Linked DNA regions of Homo sapiens: all the other regions are linked to region 1. The links are contacts of gene promoters, found by promoter capture Hi-C in human tissues and cell types (Jung and others, 2019). All regions are on one chromosome and are shown on one strand. The core of a region is centred on a gene start or on the middle of the fragment in contact, and the rest is flanking DNA. Distances in the headings are between cores, read along the strand shown.

Region 1 (4,350 bases), core at 22-2,521:
GAAGTCTTTAAAGAACAATTCACAAGCAGAATAAAAAAATATAAAAATATAATAACTGTGATACAGTAAAAAGACTCAGCAGAAGTTTCCCTTGTAACTCGCGTGGCCAAAGCAGATATCAAATAAAAGATGAAATAAACAGGAAATCCATAGAACGTGAACAATAAGGAACCGTTCAGGATGGCCAAACCGCCGTCTGCGCTGTTTTCTCGCCAGGGCTCAGGCCTGGGAACGGAAGAGGTTAAAATCCAGTGGCTTGTGTTTCAGCTTTGGTTACGTGGCAGAAACCAACTGGAAGTGGTGGCGTGAGAGCTCTGTTTCTTCTAGAAGAGCTTTGCGTCTTAAACGCCCATACCGCAGACAGCTGCCTGGCGGGCGACCCAGCCCCATCCTGATGGCCCCAGGACACAAGCCCAGGAGCGCCCCGGTGCGCGCGGTTCCGCGGCCCAGGGGCGCCGGGTTTGGTGGCACAGCGAGCCCCCTTTCTCTAGCGGTATGGCTGCGTTAGAGCCCTAATGAGCGCGTGCGAAGGCTCCCCTTATTCATCCATCCTCCGGTCCGTCCTTTGTCTCAAGGCCGGGGCCTTGCTGGGCACCATGGCGTGCTTTACCGCACAAGCCCCTGAGGACCCCTGGAAGAAGGGATCTTCCGCAGGAGGGGACGCGACGGCAGGACCGCCCCGGGCCCCCTCACCGCGCCCGGCCCCCTGGCGGGAGAGGCCGGCGAGCTCTGGAGAGGAGCGCGGGCCGCGCGGGGCGAAAGCGCCACCCGGGAGAGAGGGATCCTCCCCTCTCCTCCTCTCTTCTCCCCTCCCCTCCCTCCCCTCCCACAGTCCTCAGGAGGAGGAACGCCGCTGCGTTCTAAGTTCTCCCGGGCCCTCTGGCCCCGAGGACTCAGATCCCGGCCGCGGGAGAGGGCCCGGCAGGTGCCAAGGAGCCCGGGCGGTCCTTCAGCCCGCACTTCCCCGCGGTCGCCCGGAGCCGGCCTCCGTTAGCCGGGCGGGTAGGCGGCTATTGGCGCCAGGATTGGCCGGCGCCGCCCGCGCCCCCGCGGCCTCGGGTGGAGCCTCCCGCCCGGCCGCCCCCTGCGGCACCCGCGACACGGGTGGGGACCAGAGGCTCCCGGCGGCGGCTCCCGGCGGCGGCTCCCGGGCTGTGATTGGCCAGCGCCACAGGGGGCGGGACGGCGGGCGTGAAGTGAGCGGGCTGGGGCCGCTGGCGCGCCCTCCTACTTCCCCGTCTGCGTCCGCGTTCGCGGCTCCCGTTTGCATCATCTCCAGCCGGCGGCTGCTCCAGGGAGGCTGGGCGCGATCCTCTCCGCCCGCGGCTCCAACCCGCACTCTGCGCCTCTCCTCGCCTTTCTCGCACCTGCTCCTGCGCCAGGCCCGGAGACCCCCGGGGCGGCTTCCCAGAACCTGCGGAGCACAACTGGCCGACCGACCCATTCATTGGGAACCCCGTCTTTTGCCAGAGCCCACGTCCCCTGCCACCTCTAGCTCGGAGCGGCGTGTAGCGCCATGGAGAAGAGCAACGAGACCAACGGCTACCTTGACAGCGCTCAGGCGGGGCCTGCGGCCGGGCCCGGAGCTCCGGGGACCGCGGCGGGACGCGCACGGCGTTGCGCGGGCTTCCTGCGGCGCCAAGCGCTGGTGCTGCTCACCGTGTCCGGGGTGCTGGCGGGCGCGGGCCTGGGCGCGGCGTTGCGCGGGCTCAGCCTGAGCCGCACGCAGGTCACCTACCTGGCCTTCCCCGGCGAGATGCTGCTCCGCATGCTGCGCATGATCATCCTGCCGCTGGTGGTCTGCAGCCTGGTGTCGGGCGCCGCCTCGCTCGATGCCAGCTGCCTCGGGCGTCTGGGCGGCATCGCTGTCGCCTACTTTGGCCTCACCACACTGAGTGCCTCGGCGCTCGCCGTGGCCTTGGCGTTCATCATCAAGCCAGGATCCGGTGCGCAGACCCTTCAGTCCAGCGACCTGGGGCTGGAGGACTCGGGGCCTCCTCCTGTCCCCAAAGAGACGGTGGACTCTTTCCTCGACCTGGCCAGGTAACACTCTCCACCTCTCCCAGGGCCCAGTGGGAGACGCCAGTTCTCGGATGCCCTCCAGTTCATACACCCATATGCTTATACACTCCTAAGAGTTAATTCTTAGCTGGCTGCTGGTGGCGTTTAACGTTTTAAAAATATCAAAATGACGTCTGGAGTTTTTGCGTGCTGACCACACCTTTGCAAACAGCTGGGGCGCACCGCACAATCGAAAGAGCAGGGCCGCATCTTTGAGCAAGAACCAGTCCCCACCGTTAGGTGGGCGTTTGTTAGGGAAGAGCCAGCCGCCCCGCCTGTTCTTTACTCCTTATACTCTCGCGCTGCTCTCCCCGGTAAAAATGTTCCGACCACGCCCCAGTGGCTTCGCCTCATTTTCTCCCACATGGTGCCTAAAAGCTTCTGGGAGCATTGGTTAAGTTTTGCCTCTTGGGTCATCCGGCTTGCAATCTATGGCCTTCTCTGTTACAGTCCTTGGCTGCGAAGGAAGCTGGCAATTTTCTGCAGTTATCAGTGGACCCACGGATAATAGGGCTGGGGTTAGTTGAGTGAGACATATTGCCCAGAAATATGCCTCTCCTGAGGGCTTGGGGCTTGGGACAGGTTGCTGTCCACCCCAGTAAAGACCACGGCAGAGTGCTGTGTTTCAAAGGCCTTTCTTTGTGCGAAAGTGTGAGTTCTAGAGGGGAGGGAGAGAAGCATCTTCACTTAGTTTTGCCTGCTTTTTGCAATTCTTAGAAGTTGCATTTCATCCTTTGAGATGATGTAGTATCCTTTCTGTGACTTATCCAAAACCTTGGTCTCTCCTGGTTTCTCCATTAGCCCAAAGTTCACAAATGGGGAAACTGCAGCCCGGAGGCATTTACTGATCTAACCAGGTTCAGTTGAGTGAGGAGTCCAGCTGGCTCCTTCTCCAGATTTCTGATGATTTTGGATTCTGAGCCTTGGAGTTATTAATATATTTTGTCTTGAGTTATTGAGGCAAAGCTCCTCATTGCTGAGGTTGTGAAAAACAGCAAACCCTGGGCAAAGTGACTTGCCTTTCCAACTGTTTCCATTTCTCCTTCTGGAAAATGTGATGGCTGTCTGCACTTAAGAGAGAGATTGTTCACTTAAAACAACAAAAATCTAGGACATCCGTATTTAAAAACAAACAAACAACAACAAAAAAAAACCACTCATGAGGGAGACCAAAAGTTCTTGCCAAAAGGGCAGATAGTGGTGGCCTATTAGGACTTTTAAGGGGATCACAGCTTTTTTTTTTTTTTTTTTTTTTTAAAGTCTGGGTCTTGCTCTTTTGCCCAGACTGGAGTGCAGTGTTGGGATCCTAGCTCACTGCATCCCCGAACTCCTAGGCTTCAGCGATCCTCCTGCCTCAGTCTCCAGAGTAGCTGAGATTACAGGTGCACACCACCACACCCAGCTTTTTGTTTGTTTGTTTGTTTGTTTTTTGAGACGGAGTCTCGCTCTGTCACCCAGGCTGGAGTGCAGTGTGCGATCTCGGCTCACTGCAAGCTCCGCCTCCTGGGTTCACGCCATTCTCCTGCCTCAGCCTCCCGAGTAGCTGGGATTACAGGCGCGTGCCACCACGCCCGGCTAATTTTTTGTATTTTTTAGTAGAGACGGGGTTTCACCATGTTAGCCAGGATGGTCTTGATCTCCTGACCTCGTGAGCCACCCGCCTCGGCCTCCCAAAGTGCTGGGATTACAGGTGTGAGCCACCCTGCCTGGCCCCAGCTAACTGTTTTAAATTTTTTTAGAGATGGGGTTTCACTATGCTGCCCAGGCTGGTCTAGATCACAGCCTTTGTTCTGTGACTGGCAGCTTGATATTTGGAGTCCAGACACTTTTTAAGTTTGGAAACTAACTTTTAGGTGAGTGCTGAAAAGAAGTCTCCTGAGGTTGAGAGCACCTTTAGCCTATTACCTGTAGGAGGTCGGTCAGCTCTCTCAGGGAGGAAAGGCAATAATGGGGTTAAAGGATTATTCTTTGCAGGGATCTGTGGCCCAGGGAGGGAGAATGGATGTTCAGCTCTGTCCTGCTATGGTCCCGCACCGGGAGCCTCAATAGGATCTTTTAACTCCAGAAGAGGGGGCAGTGGTGGTAGGGGGTACCTCATTACCTCCTGAAGGGACTTCTTGTTTCCTGATCATGGTTTTCTAGTTTTAGACCCAAGCCCCTTCACCTCCTGCTTCTGACATGGATGGTGACCCAGCGTCATAGCTTAGTAGTGTGGGTGCAACTTTTCAATGACTTGGGCTGCACCTGCATGGAGGGCTAAGAGAGGCTTTGTTGTGGCTTGCTGGGGAT
Region 2 (4,203 bases), core at 709-3,208, 410 kb after region 1:
TTAGTTTTCTTATGAGGAAAAAAGTTTTCTTATGAGGAGGATTAGATGGGATAATGTGGGTGAGGCCTCAGTCAAGGGCATGGCAACGCAGTTAAAGGTTGATTACTCTTCCTCTCTTCCACCTGTTTTGGTTTTGTTTTCTAACTTTTGTGCTATATCTCTGCCTAAAACTTCCCTCTCTGCACAGATAAACCTGTCCTTCAAGGCTCAACTCAAATGTCACCTTCTCCATGTGGGTTTACTTGAAACCCACCCACTAATTTCCTTCCCCCACCAAATACCTACGGCGCATCATGCTATTCTTGGACACAACAGCAAAAGCTCCCGTGTGCTTGCCCTATGTCCTACACTTGACTGACAACATTTGTGGACAGGCCCCACGTCTGATTCATCTTTGAGTTCTCCACACGGTCCTGCATATAGCAGAAACTTGGTAAATATTTGCTGAGTGAAAGAACAAATTTTTGGAGCAAAGGCAAGAGGGAGTTCCAAGCTTTGAAGACTACGGAACCAGCACTGTAGTATAACTGAGCAACAGGACAGAGATGGGTTTGTCCTGGGACATACTAGAGAAGTAAAGAATTTTTTTATTCCAAAGGAGCAGTGAAGCCAAACTATACAAAGTGAAGTGAAGCCAGCTTCCCCTGTCTCCTCCAAGTGAAGCATGGCCGCCTCCCCAGAGCCAAGGGTGTTGCCATTTTAAACAAATAAGTCACCCTGCTCTGATGCAAACAGCCCTCAGTGCTTCAGTCCTGAAGGGAGGGACTCTTGTATACCATGCACTTGAAAAATTAGATCTTTGTTTCCAAGAGGCTATTCTAAACTTCTAACCAGGCCTGTCTGCTTAGCAATCTCCTTAAAAGCATGTGCTGGTAGCAAGTACAGCTGCATTCTTAATCACTTACACCCCACAACCAACTAAAGATAGCTTGAGGAGGTCTGCCATATGCCAAATTCTTCTTTTAAATAAGAACACAAGAATCGTTCATGAAAAAAAAAAATTCAGTCATAGCCATCAGAAAAGGGAAAAGGAAAAAGATTTGACTTTTCTCTCCTTGTTTTGAATGAAATACCAAAGTAGAAAAATTTTGATAAAGAAACAGATACACACTACATCTTGGCACCAGGCTTATGCATCTGCATGGCCTGGCCTCTGAGACCCCTATCACAGTATTTACTCCTGAGTACCCTGAAAATGACTCAGGCCTGTCACAAGTTAGCCACAGACAGCGCCAAGTAATAAACCCAGCCCTCACCGCCCCCATCCTGAACAAATGAGCAGGGTTAACTTTTCTCACTGGCAACCAGAATGGGTTGTGGCTTATGACATGTCTCTCTTTTTCCTTTTTACCTAAACCCTACTAATCACTCAAAGCAAAGCTCAATTCCTTTCTCTTCTGTCAAGCTTTTCACAACTACCTAAACCAAGATAATTTCTTGGTCCATCACTAGGTCCAACCCTGCCCAGCTGTGGGCAGAATGTCCCAACCTGACCCTTCACATTTCTACAATCTGTTTCTAGCATCACTTTTTTTTTTTTTTTTTGCCCTTTACTCACAATACAAGGTAACATATGTATAATCCACAGACCCAGGCCTTTCTAAATAGATTGCCCACTTCCTGAAGACAGGAGCCTCATCTTAGCTAGACTCCTTTAGACATATCCCCCACTCCAAAGTACCTGAGCTACATGGATGAGTAGAATCGATATTGTGAAAATGACCATACTGCCAAAAGCAATCTACAAATTCAATGCAATTCCCATCAAAATACCACCATTATTCTTCACAGAACTAGAAAAAAAAATCCTAAAATTCACATGCAATCAAAAAAGAGCCTGCATAGCCTAAGCAAGACTAAGCAAAAAGAACAAATCTGGAGGCAACCTATTACCTGATTCCAAACTATACTGTAAGGCCATAGTCACCCAAACAGCATGGTAGTGGTATAAAAATAGGCACATAGACCAATGGAACAGAATAGAGAACCAAGAAATAAAACCAAATACTTGCAGACAACTGATCTTTGACAAAGCAAACAAAAACTTAAAGCAGAAAAAGAACACCCTATTCAACAAATGGTACTGGGATAATTGGCAAGCCACATGTAGAGAATGAAACTGGATCCTCATCTCTCATCTTATACAAAAATCAACTCAAGATGGACCAAAGACTTAAATCTAAGGCTTGAAACCAAAAAGATTTTAGAAGATAACGTTGGAAAAACCCTTCTAGACATTGGCTTAGGCAAAGACTTCATGACCAAGAACCCCAAAGCAAATGCAACAAAAACAAAGATATATGGGACTTAAACTTAAAAAGCTTCTGCACAGCAAAAGAAACAATCAGCACAGTTAGCAGACAACCCGCAGAGTGGGAGAAAATCTTCACAATCTATACATCCAACAGAGGACTAATATCCAGAATCTATAAGAACTCAGCGAGAAAAAAAAAATCCCATCAAAAAGTGGGCTAAGGACGTGAATGAACAATTCTCAAAAGAAGATATACAAATGGCCAACAAGCATATGGAGAAATACTCAACATCACTAATTATCAGGGCAATGCAAATCAAAACCACAATGAGATACCACCTCACTCCTGCAAGAATGGCCATAATCAAAAGATCCAAAAATAATAGATGTTGGTGTGGATGTGCTGAAAAGGGAACACTTTTACACTGTTGGTGGGAATGTAAACTAATACAACCACTATGGAAAACAGTGTGGAGATTCCTTAAAGAACTAAAAGCAGAACTGCCATTTGGTCCAGCAATCCCACTACTGGGAAAAGAAGTCATTATATGAAGAAGATACTTTCACATTCATGTTTATAGAAGCACAATGCGCAACTGCAAAAATATGGAACCACCCCAAATGCCTATCAACCAACAAGTGGATAGAGAAAATGTGGTATAGCTGGGCGCGGTGGCTCATGCCTGTAATCCCAGCATTTTGTGAGGCCAAGGTGGGCGGATCACGAGGTCAGGAGATCGAGACCATCCTGGCTAACACGGTGAAACCCTGTCTCTCTTAAAAAATAAGCCGGGTGTGGTGGCGGGCGCCTGTAGTCCCAGCTACTTGGGAGGCTGAGGTAGGAGAATCGCTTGAAGCTGGAGGCAGAGGTTGCGGTGAGCCGAGATCACGCCATTGCACTCCAGCCTGGTCAACAAGAGCGAAAATCTGTCTCAAAAAAAAAAAAAAGGTGTATATATATACACCATGGAATACTACTACTCAGTCATAAAAACGAACAAAATAATGGCATTTGCAGCAACCTGGATAGAACTGGAAACTATTATTCTTTTTTTTTTTTTTTTTTTGAGAGGGAATCTCTCTGTCGCCCAGGCTGGAGTGCAGTGGTGCGATCTCAGCTCACTGCAACCTCTGCCTCCCGGGTTCAAGTGATTCTTCTGCCTCAGCCTCCCTAGTAGCTGGAACTACAGGTGCACGCCACCACGCCTGGCTAATTTTTGTATTTTTAGTAGAGACGGGGTTTCACCATGTTGGCGAGGCTGGTCTCGAACTCCTGAGTTTGTGATCTGCCTGCCTCGGCCTCCCAAAGTGCTGGGATTACAGGCGTGAGCCACTGCGCCTGGCCTTAACTGGAAACTATTATTCTAAGTGAAGTAACTCAGGAATGGAAAACCAAACATCATATATTCTCACTCATATGTGGGAGCTAAGCTATGAGGACACAAAGGCATAAGAATCATACATTGGACTTTGGGGACTTGGGGGAAAGGGTGGGGATGGCAAAGGATAAAAGATTACACATTGGGTACACTGTATATTGCTCAGGTGATGGGTGTACCAAAATCTCAGAAAATACCACTAAAGAACTTATTCATGTAACCAAACACCACCTGTTCCCCCAAAACCTATTGAAATATAAAAATTAAAAAACAAAAAAACAAAAACCCCCAACAAAGTACCTGAGCTAGTCTCAGCACTGCAGGGTATACACAGGTATAAACTCTTCTCCAATGAAGTTACTGATACTCAATCCTTCTGACATCAAATTCAGTGATTACCTATTAGTTTTCTGAGGTTTAGCTCTTATATTATTCTGGTCCCTCCACAATCCTCCCCCTCAATCCTTCTTAAATAGTTATATGACACTTTTAACTAAGTCAAGATTTGGTGATAAAACTTATGATTATATAAATATTCAGGGCCAACCCTGGAATAGTCCATGGTTATAT
Region 3 (4,056 bases), core at 1,228-3,727, 370 kb before region 1:
CAACATCGGGAACAGAAGTGGCTGTATGAGCTTCTAAAAAGCCCCATCTGGAAGCTGGAGAAGCTGGGCCCATTTCCTAACTCAGAGGAGGCCACAGTCCCTGGGGCAGGAACTGGCCCCTCCTATTCTTCCCTTGCCCTCCAGAGTGGGGTTGCCTGGGACCAGGTCCTCAGAAACTGTGATGGGAGGAGGGCACCTTTACAACAGCAGGTGGAGCACCTGTAAGTCCTAAGTTCCCTTCCCCAAAGACCAAGAAAGAGTTTGGAGAAGACTGGAGCCAGCCTTGCCTTCTCCTCTCCTGAAGGAATGGATACATGAATGAATGAATGCCTCTACTTTACTCTTTTATTTTTAGAGTTAAGGTAGAGAAAGAATAAAATAGCTGTGGATGTACAAACACCATTTAGAACACAGTTAAACAAGCCCAGAAGCTTAGTTGAATACAAGTGTCAATAGGCAACCACATTTTGCATTTGCTGCCCAGCAGCTAAACCAGAACTGGGCCCTGCAGTGCAGTAGTTTGGCCAACTGTTTAATGAATGAATGACATGACATGACCACACATTTCAGATAACGGGGAAAACGGGGAGGAAGCTTTGGGGGGTGTGTCTCCGCACCCACATAGAGTTGAAGTCACTTGTACTTGGTATAACTTGACAGCTCGGTGAGCTTTAGAATCAAGCACCCACAGATGGGGAAATCTCATTTTCTAAATGAAATTAACAAAGTAGGAGGGGCAGATCAGGGTGTTTCAATTCATACCCCAGCCTGCTCTCCTAGCAATCTGGTAACTAGACCAGAGCTTCTGCTAAGTAAGTTAATCAAACAACACCTGCTGGGGCGGTGCTGCCCACAGACTTGCCCACCATTCTAAGACCCTGTACACACACACACACACACACACACACACACACACACACACACACACTGTCATCCTGTTCTGGGCTATTCTATGTGTTTGATGCTTGAGCCAAAGATAGAATTTGTGTGGACTGTTTTCCCTGAACACTTAACTTTTGCCTGACCAGGTACCCAAGAACTCTTCCCGAGAGCCCAACCCAGGCCTTGAGCAGCCACATTGCCACAGGCCCTCTGGCTTTATTGCTGTGTTGTTGACTCAGCTGGGGATTTCTGGTGGCTTTGAGATTCTCTCTCCATCTGGACTCAGTCTCTGAGGCTCCAGACTCCTTCCTAGTCCCTATTTCCTCCTGTCTTGTCCCCCTTGGACTCACCTGGGCAATGGGCTTCTCCAGTCTGAAAGGGTCAGGCCCTGTTAGGCTGGGGCCACTGCCCTGGGCAGCATCTGGAGTGAAAGGCAAGCTGAGCTGCTGTCAGGCCCTGAGAAACAGGTATTTTTATTCCGGGGAGTGGCCCCTTTTCGGGACTCAGACCCTGGGAATTCAGGTGCCCCACTCAGCTCTAGCTAAAGTTGGGCTCCCAGGACCCTCACCAGGCTAAGAGTGAATGCGCTTGGGTTTCTTAGCTCCCCTGCCCCCCCCACCATTCCCCATAGTGGGTTCCTTTTGTCTTCACTAAATCCCCTCCAATCTCCCCTTCCAAAAGGCAGCAGATCCAAGTGGAATTCAACACCCAAACACTCACACAAAGGCAAGGATTAATAGCTGGCTTTGTCTGGGCACAGATGTGCAGCAGCTTGGCGGGGGGGTGGGGAGGGGGCATTTTTTTCTTGCCACTTGAGTCAGCTGGGTTCTGGCTCCGCACTTGAGGGTGGGGAGGGGAGGAAGCTGGGGAGGAACTGCTGCATGGATTCCCCTCGAGGGCACCACACCCGACTTCTCTGAGCTGGTATGTTCTTGGGAGTCTGGTCCCCACGAAGGAGAGACTTCCTCTACAAAGTTCTTCTCTGGCTGGGAGGCCTGTCAGCCTCTCTTCCTTTGACTTCAACAAGTCACACTCACAAGCTGGTGCGCAGTCTCTGGACTCAGTTCCTGTTCTTCCAGAGCCTGAGCTCTAAAACAGGCCCCAGACATTCTCAAAGAAACCCTGAGAGCTGAGCGGACTAACTGGGACACTGACAGGAGGCACACGGGGGCATACTGCAGGAGGATGGGGAATGTTCCTGGAGGAGCTGGGGCTTAATCTGAGCTCCAAAGGATGGACAGAGGGGAAAGAAGGGGACTTCTTTGCAGCGACTCCAGGAGGGGTCAGTGGGGCAGGAGAGAGCAGGGCCTTGAAGGTATGGGAAGGGGAATGAATATTTCCTGTGGCAATAGGGAGCCACTGAAGTTGTAGATCAGAGTCAGAGCTGGAGAAGCACCATGGGTGTAAGGAAGCCTGTTCTGTTATTGGGCATAGAACAGGCTGGAGGAGGTGGTAGCCAAGGAAACAAATGGGTGTCTCTGGGCCAGAGCTCATTCTCACTCAGCCCCTCTGCATCCAACAGAATCCCTTATTTGAACAATCCATGCTACTATTCAACCACACAATCACGGAATTACAAATTTGGTCCTCAATATTTAGGGACAGAAATATCATGTTTCCCTATTGTTCTATGTCAGGTAAATTAGGCTTCATTCCTAAACACAGAGCTCATTGGAAATATGACATCAGTCAAGTTTGGGGTGAAGGGGTGCTTCCCCTTCCCTAGGGTGGGACAAGTATCTGGGGTCTCCAGACCAGCTGGTCTCTGAGGGGCTTGTTGATCAAGACAAGACCCCTGGTATCAGGAGGTTTATATGCTAGAGGAGGAAAAACAGTAAGAAACAAGGAAGCAAATGAATAAATGGGATAGCTTTAGATCAAGTTTGTCCAACCTGTGGCCTGCAGGCCACGTGCAGCCCAGGACAGCTTTGAATGCAGCCCAGCACAAATCTGTAAACTTTCTTAAAACATTATGAGATTTTTTTTTTCCTGAGACAGAGTCTTGCTCTGTCACCCAGGCTGGAGTGGAGTGGCATGGTCTCGGCTCACTGCAGCCTCCGCCTCCCAGGTTCAAGTTATTGTCCTGCCTCAGCTTCCTGAGTAGTTGGGATTACAGGCATGTGCCACCACACCCAGTTAATTTTTTGTATTTTTAGTAGAGACGGGGTTTCACCATGTTGGCGAGGCTGGTCTCGAACTCCTGACCTCAGGCGATCTGCCCACCTTGGCCTCCCAAATTGCTGTAATTATAGGCATGAGCCACCATGCCTGGCCAAACATTATGAGTTTTTTTAGCAGTTTTTTTTTCCTTTTTTTTTTTTTTTTTAGCTCATCAGTTATCATTAGTATTAGTGTATTTTATGTGTGGCCCAAGACAATTCTCCTTCTTCCCATGTGGCCCAGGGAAGCCAAAAGATTAGACACCCTTGCTTTAGATAGTGACAAATGCTGGAGAAGAACAGACTGATATGTCTGGCTGGGATGAGTGGTCAGAGAAGGCTACTCTGAGGAGAGAGCATTTCAGCTGAGAACTGGAGGATGAGAAGGAGTGAGACATAGTAGAATCTCATCTAGTCTAGATATTTAACCCTTTTTGGTCTAAAAACAGTAATTTCAGAGAGCTCAACGTAATACAGAGATAGAGGTGCTGAGCATATTTAATGCAAAGGAATGGAGGCAGGACTGAGATTGGAGTGGCAGTCTCAGCTCAGAAAAGGTGGTGCAATGACAGGGCACTGAGTGAGGGACACATAGGAAAAAGTGAGCTCAGAGGGCAGGTCTGGCTAGAGAAGGAGTTGAGAGTCTAAGTTCAGTGGGAAAAATAAATTTCGAGGGTCAGATTGTGAACTGATTCATGTTTGGAATGTTAAAATGTTGAATGTTTTACAATTTGAAATTAAAGACAATACCATTTACATTAGCACCTCAAAATAAGAAATACTCTAGTATAAATCTAACAAAACATGTACAAAATCTATATGAGTAAAACAATAAAATGCTGGTAAAATAAATCAAAGATCTAAATAAATAGAGAGATATTCCATGTTCGTGGATGGTGAGACTCAATATTGTTCAGATATCGGTTCTTTCCAGCTTGATCTATAGATTCAATATAATCATAATCAACTCCCAGTTGTCTCTTTTGTGGAACTGGCAAAGCAATTCTTAAGTTTA
Region 4 (4,457 bases), core at 176-2,675, 490 kb before region 1:
ACTGAAAGGTGAGCAACAATAGAAGGAAGGGGAATAAAAGCCTTCCGCTTTCGTCATCCCTGCAAAGAAAATGGAATTCATAAATTTGAGACTCAAATGTACTCTGCAAAATTTTAAAATTTGCAGCATTTTGTTATTTGGGGGCCGGTGTTAGACTGCAGATAAACATGTAGTTTAATACATACATATTATATCAGATTACATATTGCTACAATTATTGGAGTTGCTTTGCTGTTTGCAAAATGAGCCTTGTAGGAAACAAGTGTTTCCAAGTAAATGATGACTGAAAGATTCTATGAAGAAGAAAAAAAATGTAACCATAAGGTTTAAATGCTTTAGAGGAAGTCAAGCTTGGAGGACAAGTTATATTTGTGTTTAGAAGCCATGCTGGATGCTACAAGTGTGCATTATGAATGTGCACAGTAAACGGGAGGCAAAGGAGCCAGCAGGGCTATGAGGATGGGGGTGCTATGGGGACATAGTCATAGACAGTTAAAGAGCATAAAGAATATCGACAGAGTTCAATGAATAGAATGGAGCTACCCTGGGAGATAAAGATACACAATTAGGTTGAAGCACAACCAGATAGGTGATATATTATGTTCTTTCTCAAGGTTGGCTTTTCTGTGCTGTTTATCTCCCAAGAACACTTGAGTTGTTGCAAGCAAACTTTCTGGGTTTTTTTTTTTTGTGGAGATGGAGTTTTGCTCTTGTCACCCAGGCTGCAGTGCAGTGGCATGATCTCAGCTTACTGCAACCTCCGCCTCCCGGGTTCAAGCGATTCTCCTGCCCCAGCTCCTGAATAGCTGGGATTACAGGCACCCACCACCACTCCTGGCTAATTTTTTGTATTTTTAGTAGAGACGGGGTTTTGCCATGCTGGGCAGGCTGGTCTCGAACTCCTGACCTCAGGTGATCCACCCTCCTCAGCCTCCTAAAGTGCTGGGATTACAGGTGTGAGCCACCACTCCTGACTGCAAAGCAAACTTTTGAGCTGAGAACTGAAGTCTCAACTCAAGCACAGTCCACTAACTGTCTTCCCTATTGCTGTAGAGCCCTTGGTAGGGAACTAAAGACCTTCCACAAGCTGATCTCAGTCTGCCTTCCCAAACTAAGGCACAGAAGAGCCAGCAGTTAAAGTATTAGACTGGGAAAAGATGAGTTAACTTTGGGCCTCTCTAACCCCACTTTGGTAGTTGAGAGATAGCACTGGTTGCCTAATAAGGAGTGGGATGGTGGCAAGTACAAAGCTTGCTCATCCATCCAGGCATTGTCCTATCCCCTCAGCTGCCCTTTCTACTTCCTTCCTCCTTCGCCCCCACCCCATCTTCAAGGAATTTAGCTATACTCTGCAGGTGCCCTCTGACCAGCCAAAATCATCATCACAGCCAAAACCATACTTGCCCACCTTTTGACATGCTTCAAACTTACTACGCACCTTTCCTTTCACTTTCTACCCAACTCTCCAGACAAATTCACAGAGAAATCCTGGCATTATTGTCATAGCAAAACACAGTAGAGAAGCCTTACTGTTAATCAACATGGGGATTAGCTAAAAAAACAAAATTGTGGGCCGGGCACGGTGGCTCACGCCTGTAATCCCAACACTTTGGGAGGCCGAGGCAGGCAGATCATGAGTGAGGAGATCGACACCATCCTGGCTAACACAGTGAAACCTCGTCTCTACTAAAAATACAAAAATTAGCTGGGCGTGGTGGCGGGCACCTGTAGTCCCAGCTACTGGGGAGGCTGAGGCAGGAGAATGGCGTGAACCCGGGAGGCGGAGCTTGCGATGAGCCAAGATCTCGCCACTGCACTCCAGCCTGGGCAACAGAGCGAGACTCCACCTCAAAAAAAAAATTGTGGTTGACCCCATTAAGGAATACTATGCAGCCATAAAAAAGAAGAGGAATGCACTGCGTGAATTAATAGGGGGAAATGTCCATGAGCATTCTTTTTTCCCAAGTAATTTTCCCAACACTATGTCTGGAGAGAGATGAATCCATTTTTTATAAAATAAAACAAAATAAAAACTATATAGATGTCCTGAGACCCACCCCCACCAAGAGTATGCCTGCAGAAAAACAGGTAGTCTGACTTGGCTAAGGTCCGAGCTACTTGCCTTGCTGGTTTGGATTGAGTATACACACTGGGTGAGTCTAACGGTGGACGTGGAGGAGTAGGAGAACCAGAGCCAGTTCAGGTGCAGGGAGGCTGGGAGAAGGCAGGCTTGGAAGAAAGAATGAGGAAGGGAAAAGAAAGGGCAAGAGAGACAGAGAGAGCAGGTGCTGTGGGGAGAGGAACTACTTCGGGGACATCCTACTGGCTACCCTGAAAATCATGGGAGTATTTTGGTGTGATCACCACTTTCTAAAGCCAGTTTTTCAGCTTGGAATATTTTTTTTAGCCACTGTGGAAGAAACAAAACTTCTCATCGAATATTAGGTTTATAAACTGTCAGAAGAACTTTATTTTAAAGCCACTGCAAAAGGAAAATAATTGAGCTGGTGTTTGCTGCCTAAAACACCAGAGGTCACATAGTATGGTCTTAAAGAAGAGAAACTCAGGGAAAGGAGGGAAAGAAGAAGAAAAATGCTTTGAACTTAATATGTATATATCTTCATGTGACTAATAAGAGGTAATTTTTGAGCCATTACCATCTGCTAAAATTACCTTTCATGACTGGCTAAGCCTTTATCACAAGCCTTTCAATTCATGCAGATGTAACAGGTTTACATTTTACATGGATAAGGCCCTGCAGAAAAACAATTTGACAACAATGGTGTCCTTATCCCTTCATAATTAATGACAACAGAGAAATCTGTATCTTGATGGATATCAGCACACATGTTTATCCTCATTCGAGACCTTCACCCCATTCCAATAGTCAGCTGTCAAAAGCTTTTTGTTTAGTTCATTAGGTTCTCACTTCAGCTTCCTTATAAGCAAAAACAGATGACTTACAACAGAAGATGGAATAAGCAAAATATTTTAGATCCGAGTTATTTGTTTCACAGATTTCATTTAATGTAAACTGATTCCCTTCATAAGGGGAGATAAACTCCTGGAGAGTTCTGTTGTTGTTTCTAATTTAAATATATTTTCTATATTTTCCAAAAGGCGTAAATAAATGTGTTTTAATTTGTAACCACAAAAATAATTTTTAAAAATAGTAGAGATCAGGCCGGGTGTGGTGGCTCACGCCTGTGATCCCAGCACTTTGAGAGGCCAAGGCAGGCGGATCACTTGAGGTCAGGAGTTCCAGACCAGCCTGGCCAACATGGTAAAACCCTATCTCTACTAAAAATACAGAAATTCGCCGGGCACATCTGTAATCCCAGCTACTCAGGAGGCAGGAGAATCGTATGAACCCAGGAAGCAGAGGTGCAGTGAGTGACAGAGTAAGACTCTGTCTCAAAAATAAATAAATGATAGAGACCAATCATAAAAAGTAACTGCTTTGTAAAAGCTTTAGTCCTCACCCTGATTCCCCACTGCTGCTGTGTCCTTCCAAAGAAGAATTAGCGTCTCCTCAAACAGGAAAGCTGATTTTAATGGTGGGCCCAATTGATGACTGAGTCTGCCTGGCTGGCCTGATGGCAGTCATTGATATCCATGGAAGAAGCCATGTCTTCTCAGGAGTTTCCACCATTTGTGAAGAAAGTACCTCAGTCAGAGCTTCAGGTGCCTCTAGTAGCCTCTAGCTGCCTTAGTACTTGTGAGGCCACAGCCCTGCTCATTTAGCCACCATGCCTCTGTTTCCCACAGAAGACAAAATATAAAGCATCCAAAAAGTGTATGTCTCAGTCAGGGTCCAGACAGAGATCAACGGGAGATTTAACACAGAGAACCAGCTACCAGGGTGTTGGAAGAGCTGAGATGCAGAGCAGGGGTCAATGATGTGACCCAGGCATCAGCAACAATTGGAAGTTGTCACCTGCTCTAGGCTGATGGGACAAACTTATTACCCGTGCCCAGAAGCCAGGGCTCCCTGGTGAGAACTGGCTGCACCGGCAGAGGAGCTGTCTCACGGGAGGTGGATGTGAAGGAGGCACAGTCCCTGTTGGAGAGGCCACTGGAAGCAGAGAAATGGGGAGAGGAAGGAATACCCAGGCTTCTTCGTTCCCCGCTCCATCCTCTCACAGTGCCTCCCATTAGCGGAAGTTCTCCAGAAGCCACTTGGCAAAGGAGCCTGAGAAAGAAAGGAGGAAGCACTGAGGCAACATGAGCTGACAGTTTCACTCTGTCCTTTCTTCTGTATTCCGAGTGTAGCCCACTCACTGTTGTCTCCCACTTGAGTCGTGCAGCATCCATCTGACTCGTCACCCCGCCTCCAAGACAGTCTCCACACCACCGCTAAACCTCCTCAGGGGCCTCTCGGGATCTTCAGGTGCAAAGCTACTGCACGGTCCTTCTGAGCTGACCCTGCCCCGCTCTACCATACCTCTTCCAATGGC
Region 5 (3,851 bases), core at 331-2,830, 410 kb before region 1:
ATATTTCAGAATTACCTTTCCCACGGCACATTTTTATTTCTGCCTCCATCTGCATTCTTATTCCTACAGTGTTAGGTATTAGGAAAGTATTTTGAGTAACTACTTGGTACATTCATACTTGGTACATTCACTGAAAATGGAGCTGTACTTATTGAGACCATTTGTTGCTAGTTTTGCTTGCTTCCTCCTCCATCTAACCACTTCCACCTTACAACCCCATAAACTATTGCTTATTGTATCAGTTAGCTGTTGCCTGTAATTTTTTCCTCTAGCTGATTTGATCTTACTGTGTATTTCATTTTAGTCATAGCTTATCATGTTTCTTTTATAATTTCACTATGGACTTGACAAAAAAGTAGTCCAGATGACCTAATGAAAAACATGTTTAGAATTTTGTGCTAAGATGCCTGACCTCCATCACAGAATTGTATGGTCCTTGCTTGACTCCATACCTCTGACTCAGGTTAAAATATTTAACAGAGCAGGCTTGGTGGCTCATGCCTGTAATCTCAGCACTTTGGGATGCCAAGGCAGGTGGATTGCTTGAGCCCAGGAGTTCGAGACCAGCCTAACCAACGTGGCAAAACCCTGCCTCTACAAAAATTAGCCAGGCATGATGGCATGAGCCTGTAGTCCCAGCCTCTAAGGAGGCTGAGGTGGGAAAATCACTTGAGCTCAGAAGCTTGAGGCTGCAGTGAGCCATGTTCACACCAGTGCACTCCAGCCTAGGCAACAGAGTAAAACCCTGCCTCGAAAAAAAAAATTTAACAAACATCTGAAGTACATTTTCTAAAGAGTCTCTTTACAGAAAATTTTATATATATATGTATGTGTGTATATGTGTGTGTGTGTGTGTGTGTGTGTGTGTGTGTGTGTGTATATATTTTTTTTGGAGGTAGAGTCTTGCTCTGTCACCCAGGCTGGAGTGCAGTGGCATGGTTTCAGCTCACTGCAACCTCCACCTCCCGGGTTCAAGTGATTCTCCTGCCTCAGCCTCCCACGTAGCTGGGACTACAGGCACACACCACACCACCAGACTAATTTTCGTATTTTTAGTAGAGACAGGGTTTCACCATGTTGGCCAGGCTGGTCTCCAACTCCTGACCTCAAGTGATCTGCCCACCTCAGCCTCCCAAAGTGCTGGGATTACAGGCGTGAGACATCGCACCCGGCCTAGAAAATATTTCTTACCACTCTTCTTTGGCATGCTACACACACACACACACACACACACACACACACACACACACACACGTGTGTCATACAAATGAAATACGTGTGTGTGTGTGTGTATGTATATATATATGGATTTACATATACATATATATATATAACATATATATATATGTAAATATATGTAATTTTACTTTTTGGCCATGCAGGAAGTTACATCTTCCTACGCCCCTAGCCTTTAGTGCTAGAAGCAACAGTGGCTTTCAAACTTAGCACAAGCACAATTGTATAATTCCCCTTATGACTGCATGCTTTTGGGTCTGTCTGTCCTATCCCAATTTTGGTACCCATTGAGTTTGTTTTTATCTTCCAAATTGGCTTGTATTCATTGATCTTATAACTATTGCATCTCTTGTTTAGAAATTTATTAACTTAGTTTAAGGGTGAAAACAGTAATTTTACCTTTTTTGGGATTGTGTGTGTGTTTTCATTTTTATCTGCTGAATTTCAAGGTCACACCATTGTGCCACTACTGATTTCCCTCTTAGTAAGGTCAATACTTTACACTTTATTCATTGCTGAGTAGGGTCAACACTCTGACTGGCAGTTATCCATCTAGTCACCGGTAGCAACTTCTCTTAGACTGCCTGATGTATTTTAGTTGTGAATCAGAATTTTAGAGCTAGAAAAGAAAAAATGATTATGTAGTTCCATGCTCACTTTTTTTTTGTTGTTTTTGAAACAAGAGTTTTGCTCTGTTGCCCAGGCTAGAGTGCAATGGCGCAGTCTCAGGTCACTGCAACCTCTGTCTCCTGGGTTCAAGCGATTCTCCTACCTCAGCCTCCTGAGTAGCTGGGATTGCAGGCACCTGCCACCACACCTGGCTAATTTTTATATTTTTAGTAGAGACGGGGTTTCACCATGTTGGCCAGGCTGGTCTCAAACTCCTGACCTCAAGTGATCCACCCACCTTGGCCTCCCAAAGTGTTGGGATTACAGGTGTGAGCCACCGCGCCTGGCCACCATGCTCACTTTTTACAGCATTGGAAAGGCTAAGTGATTTACCCAAAACCATGTATTAGTGGTACTGCTAGGACTGGAATCCAAGCCTCCTGTCTCCATGTTTTTGTTCTTTTTTATTGTGACCTTATTTGCCTAGTGCTTTTATCTCTGCAGTAATAATTCATACCACATTGCTTCAAGTGGTTTTAAAATGCTTCATTCTCAAGCTTTCTCTGAGTTTCCATACTTGTATACTTGTGAACATCATTAGTTTTAGTCTTTTTTTGCTTCGGTATCCTGTTTTTCACCTTTTTCATTTCCGTTAAATGTCGATTCGTGTTTATCACCTCATTATGATTTTGGCTGTCTTCAAAATACCATACCCCTGTTTGAGCAGCTCAGATTTCAGCAAATCATTAAATCATTGAAATATTTCTAAGCACCCAGCTACTTGACATCATTCAGATAGAATGTGTTCATGAAAGAACTTGCTCCATTTATTCAGAAATCGTTATTGTATAAACCTAGATTTTGTCCATTCATTCAGTGTTGAATATGCCCAAAGGTGTCACTGATCTAGAAGTGGAGTAAGTTGAATCTGCTAGAATGCTTAGAGATGTTTGTTTCCTTTTATGATCAGCTAAAGAAGATATTTCTAAATATTTATTAGCTGTGCAGGTAGGTTATAAACTAGGTTTTCAGCAGTTTTTTAACTTTTATCTGAAATAATTATAGATTCATAGGAAGTTGCAACTGTAGTACAGAGAAGTCCCTTGTACCCTTCACCAGTTTCCTCCATGGTTACATCTTACATAATATGCTATAATGTGAAAACCAGGAACATGACATTGGTACAATATGTGTATATAGTTCTATATCATTATATCACATAGGTAGATTCCTGTAACCACCACCACCAGTCAAGATACAAAACTCTTCCACCACCACCATTAAGAACACCCTTAATAGTCACTGCCCCACAACCATCCCTATCCCATCCCTTACACCCACTAACTAATGTTAGTATTTTACTTGGTTTATACCTTGCTCCAGGCTGGACCTGATTTTTGGAGACTAAATACTTAAATTAATTTGCCTGTCATTGGTATCCCAGTTATCCAGACAGTCGTATTATAATATCATGGAGTTAGACTTTACAAAAATAACTGATTCATGCTCCTTTTCTATAAAAAACAGCAAGTGATCTTACCTACCTACGCAGAAAAAAATATAAAGTTTTAACAGTGCCTGCCTTACAATAAAGCGTAGTGGTAAGCGATGTCCAAAAAAAGACGATAACATTTTGATATCAAAAGTCTAATAAAATACAGGTTATTTTAACACCATCCCCAAAAGAAAAGAAAAAAACAACCAACATTTTTTCATGTAAGAATATTCTTAAAATGAAGTGTGAATGCTTATTTTAAAAATGTGTTTGCACTGCCTTCCATCTTAAATTTACCATTTGCTTATTTTATATGTTTGACAGTTACGAAATTTAAACCCCTGGAATAGTGAATTTTTTTTTTTTTTTTTAAACAGTCTCACTCTGTCGCCCAGGCTAGAGTGCAGTAGTGGCACGATCTCGGCTCACTGCAACCTCCACCTCCCGGGTTCAAGCAATTCTCCTGCCTCAGCCTCCCAAGTAGCTGGGATTACAGGCGTGTGCCACCATG
Region 6 (4,112 bases), core at 1,588-4,087, 450 kb before region 1:
GTTACTTAGGTCATATTTTAAGGCCAAATTTGTGAGTTGTAGATTATGTAGGACATCGTTGCTTACTTTCTTAGTGGCTCAGATAATTGAACTCTAACTGCACTTGGTTGCAGTTTTATAACCTTTAGTAAATGCTTCTTTCTGTAAGAGGTGAGTTGCTCTCATGGTGGGTGTTTGTGATGTAGAAAGCAGCACTGTCAGAGGAATGGCAGCTGCCACAGTTACGTTTTTAGGTTACAGACTAGAGTGGTATTTTTTCATTTTGAAAGTCCACACAGTAGTTTGTTACTTTGTTTTTCTGGGGATTTTTTTTCTCAGTATACACTAGTCACTTGAGGTTTAACTTAGTCTTGACCAAAATGCTAATTTAAAACTTTACAGCAAGAAACTTACTTTAAAGCATGTCTGCTGTTCATGTCAGCTGATTGCAAAATCTTCTGTGGGAAAATTTTCATGAAGTATTAAAGTCCTGGGGAGCAGAGAACAAGAAAAAGAAATTAGTTGGACTATCCAGAGTGTAGCATTATGCTCTGGCGACACTCACTGACACCTCTGCTTATGCTGAGGAATTGTCTCAAATCAAAGCAAATATTCATGATAGCAGGTCTAAAAACTCACTACAAATTTTTGTCATTTAGCTAGGGTTTTTTGCAGCTTGCATATAATGTACTGCCCCTCTTAACATACTTTCTCTTTAGACATGTTGCAGCACAAATGATTGGGTTGTTTGTCCCACATTCATCACATTTCAGGCCACATTTCAAATCCCACTTATTTACCTTGATTACATTTGGATATTTCATAACTTATTTGGTGAAGCACTAAGAGACCAGAGGTGTGGTTATAGAAATCTAATTGGAGTGTGCGTGAGTTGGAGCACAATTCAAGAGTGGTTAGTAGAATAAATGCCCCAGCAAGAATGATGATAATATATTTAGTTCCTGCTGTGAGCCAGGCTCTGAGGATGCAATGGTAAACAACAGAGGTCTATGCCTACACAACATTTACAGTCATTTGAGCTCAAATAAAGTAACTCTTGAAAGAGCAGTTTCGGTAGAGCGGTAGCATGGAAGCCAGATTGTGTTGAGTTGAGGAGTGAGTGGGAAGTTAGGAAGTCGAGAGAGTGAATAGGCACATCTCTTTCAAGAAGCTTGGTGGTGAGGAGGAGAAGAGCTAGGGCGCACAGAAGAGAGGATTCTGTTTTGTTTTGTTTTGTTCTGATTTGTTTTGAGTATGGAAGAGGCTGAACGTTTATAGGAAAGGATCAATAGTGATGGAAAATTTTTAAAAGCCCCTGAGCAAGCAGTTGAGAAGAAAAACAGAAGGTCCAGGGATTATCTGTAGACAAGATTGTGGATGTAAGCAAGATTTTAGTGAAGGGACATGAAATCAAAGCAGTTTCTGCCTTTCAGATTCTATTTTCATTGCAGAGTTTCAGGGATATGAGAGTAGAGAATTAGAGTGACTAATTTATTCTGCATCTATATAATAGAAGCTGAGAGTTCTAGGGCAAAAAAAATGTTTTCCAAGGGCTAATCCATCCATCCTCGTGGATGCTTCCATTTTGTTGCCCTTGTTATCAATAGTTATCCAATGTTATGTATTCAATTTTATGTTGAAGTACCTTTTGGGAAAAATAGCTAGTAAACTCTCAAATATGGTCAGCTGATATGATGAGTTAAAGGTACAACAATCTCTAATATTTTTATCTTGTTTAATTATTACATGAAACTATCCAAATGCAAATAAAATATGTTATTATGAATTTGTGTAGAAGGTTAAAATGTTCGGTAGAAGAAAAAATTTTTCATGGGAATTTTTGAAAACCAACTTCTCTCAAATAACTCATTGCTGTTTAACAAGGTAAGTAGCACTTGAAAAGTGAACGTGTGTTGCAGCTCATGTAACTGACATTATATATATATTTTTACTTTTATGTGTCAATTGTATTGACATCAAAACTAGAAAGACAAAATTTTTTGTTGTCACTATTGACAGTGTGGCTTTTTTAGGGTGATCAACTTCAGTATAAAGGTATTTTGCTGCTCATTTTCATTGTTTGCTCATATTTTGTACTATATACACTAATACTGAAACAAGATATTTGCTGCTTGGCATTTTTGTTGGTTATACTGTACTTTCTTGTCTTGTAAAAATCTTTCCCCTTCCAAGTTACTTGGAGGTTTCAGAAACCTTTTTCTGAACCACTCAGAAGCCTTTTTGTAAGAATTTTTATAATTGTAATATTTGCCGTCAATCACGTCTAATATTTTAAGACACTTATAAAATGTTTGATTAACTTGTGATTAATTCACCACTTACTAGTTATGCTACCTTGTAGGATTACTTAACCTCTTTGAGCTTTTATTTCTTCATCTTTAAAATGAAGCATTTCCACCTCATATGATAGTATGAGGAGATAATTGAGATAACTCACGAGTTCTCTTCACATAATATTGGCCCATAGTAAGCACTCAATAAGTATTAATAATGACATTGGTGTAAACATGGAGTGAAAACACGTGGAAGATACTATTTATTTAACAAATGTCATCTTAAATAACATATTATGCAGTTGGTGACTCAGTGACATACAGTTGGTGTCTGATATCTTGGGTTTTTGTTTTTAGGCTGGCAAGTTAATTAGAGGCTCTGCCTGTATTAATTTCTGTTGTGCTAATATGCTAAGAACAAAAGAAAAAACACCCAAAAAGAAAAAACAATTATTTCTGTAGATTTTAAAATTTAGAGCTGTGAAAACAACTGTGATATCATAGCACTCTAAATATATTGAAAACCAAAAAGTTAACTAAAACCCAAATCTTCATGTGGTTCAGAAGAAGGGCTCTTTTCTACTTCTTTATGACTCAAGCAGAAATGTAGGCTGGGCAAATTCATTGACAGTACATTTTGATATGACCTTAAAATTTCCATAAGGATATTATAAAGATTTGGAAGAATTTGAACTACTGTACACCAGGCAACACTTGTAATGTAAATTGATGTTGTTAATGCTTACGTGACATTTTCATTCATTTTTCTAAAGAAAATACGGTTTTTCTTTTTTGTTTTTTCCTTCACTCACCCAAGTGACTAATTATAAACCTCAGACATATTGTGGTAAAAAGATGGTGATTATTTTTTGTCATCCATTAAATATACTTTGCTAATGTCATTGATACTATTGAAGTCATTAGCATATTTCAGATACAGTTGTTTTTCTTCTCCCTTTTATCACCATCCTTCTTTCTACAATATCTTTTCCTTCACCCTCCATCCTGGTCCCTATAAAAATAAGTTTAGAGTGAAGCTGGGTTGTATAATCTAGGTCAGTTTATCTGTCCTTGAAAGATGATGTACACATTGATACAGCTGGGCTGGTACCCTGTAAAGGATGGGAGTTTCTCCCAGTTGAGCAGTGTGTGCTGTATGTTTTTAACTTGTCTGGAAAGAACTCTCGATGTTTGATTCTGGAAAGATTGCTAGAGGGCCTCTTACTTAGAGACACTCCACCCCCCTCAAATGTGAGCCCATGGACCTTTAGGGTGCATGATACTGTGTGTGGATGTTGGGGGTAGGAGGGTACCAGGGATTAACTATTCCTTAGAGGAATACGTAGGGAATACCCTATATATTTCCCACATGTGATGAATCTTTTCCATCCCAACCAAGCACCTTCTAAATTCTTGTGGTTGTTCATCTAACCAAATAGGAGCTACAGGCAGTTTACTTCAAGATACCAGTGAGAACTTCCGGGTTGCATTTTTCTATTTCACTTCAAAACTTCCATCTTTTAACAGACTGGTCACTGGACCCTTGAGCTTGTTTAGAGGTTATGATCTCAGTCCTTCAACCTTGGGCTTCAGATTTAGTTTGTTATCAGCATCCCCCCGCCCCCATGCCCCCAAGCCTATGAAATTATATAGTTATATAAGTCAAGTTTTATATTTTCTAGGGATTGGTTAGAAAAACTGGCAATAAAGTCAACTTCATGTATCTTTAGTGTGGTTATGCATATTTTTCTTAAGTGACTTATTCTTTCAGTGACCTTTTAAAATATAGAGTCATATGAATGTTTGTGCCAACTAAGCAAACATTGACTTAGGTTTTGT

The links. The method cuts DNA at HindIII sites, captures the fragments that hold promoters and counts their contacts. A contact is called where the count stands out against the background at its distance.
Region 2: a fragment that was not itself captured here is called in contact with the fragment with the promoter of SLC1A4 in region 1 in 1 of the 25 tissues and cell types used here (spleen).
Region 3: a fragment that was not itself captured here is called in contact with the fragment with the promoter of SLC1A4 in region 1 in 1 of the 25 tissues and cell types used here (lymphoblastoid cells).
Region 4: a contact is called between a fragment that was not itself captured here and the fragment with the promoter of SLC1A4 in region 1, in 4 of the 25 tissues and cell types used here (adrenal gland, aorta, dorsolateral prefrontal cortex and 1 more).
Region 5: a contact is called between a fragment that was not itself captured here and the fragment with the promoter of SLC1A4 in region 1, in 3 of the 25 tissues and cell types used here (bladder, lymphoblastoid cells and spleen).
Region 6: a contact is called between a fragment that was not itself captured here and the fragment with the promoter of SLC1A4 in region 1, in 1 of the 25 tissues and cell types used here (lymphoblastoid cells).

What each region holds. Positions count from the first base shown.
Region 1 is chr2:64,988,128-64,992,477 of GRCh38, forward strand. It overlaps SLC1A4 (solute carrier family 1 member 4), which reads left to right and starts at 1,272. Exons shown (of 8, transcript NM_003038.5): 1 at 1,272-2,043. The coding sequence starts at 1,517. RefSeq lists silencers at 582-1,281, 1,492-1,671 and an enhancer at 1,274-1,858. The HindIII fragment of the contact is 13,271 bases long and covers 1-4,350 here.
Region 2 is chr2:65,396,082-65,400,284 of GRCh38, forward strand. All of the region lies in intron 1 of SPRED2 (sprouty related EVH1 domain containing 2), which reads right to left. Among named protein-coding and RNA genes, the nearest start is that of SPRED2, 34 kb to the right of the region's middle. The HindIII fragment of the contact is 5,409 bases long and covers 1-4,203 here.
Region 3 is chr2:64,616,160-64,620,215 of GRCh38, forward strand. It overlaps LINC02579 (long intergenic non-protein coding RNA 2579), which reads left to right. Exons shown (of 4, transcript NR_034023.1): 4 at 1-323. Among named protein-coding and RNA genes, the nearest start is that of LINC02579, 11 kb to the left of the region's middle. The HindIII fragment of the contact is 5,254 bases long and covers 1-4,056 here.
Region 4 is chr2:64,500,915-64,505,371 of GRCh38, forward strand. No RefSeq gene overlaps it. Among named protein-coding and RNA genes, the nearest start is that of LINC01805, 17 kb to the left of the region's middle. The HindIII fragment of the contact is 3,520 bases long and covers 1-3,185 here.
Region 5 is chr2:64,574,865-64,578,715 of GRCh38, forward strand. All of the region lies in intron 6 of AFTPH (aftiphilin), which reads left to right. The region is part of intron 4 of LOC105374773 (a long non-coding RNA gene); the gene reads right to left. Among named protein-coding and RNA genes, the nearest start is that of LINC02579, 31 kb to the right of the region's middle. The HindIII fragment of the contact is 4,167 bases long and covers 1-3,664 here.
Region 6 is chr2:64,538,733-64,542,844 of GRCh38, forward strand. The region is part of intron 1 of AFTPH (aftiphilin); the gene reads left to right. LOC105374773 (a long non-coding RNA gene) reads right to left here. Exons shown (of 7, transcript XR_007086343.1): 7 at 9-469. Among named protein-coding and RNA genes, the nearest start is that of MIR4434, 15 kb to the left of the region's middle. The HindIII fragment of the contact is 8,455 bases long and covers 1-4,112 here.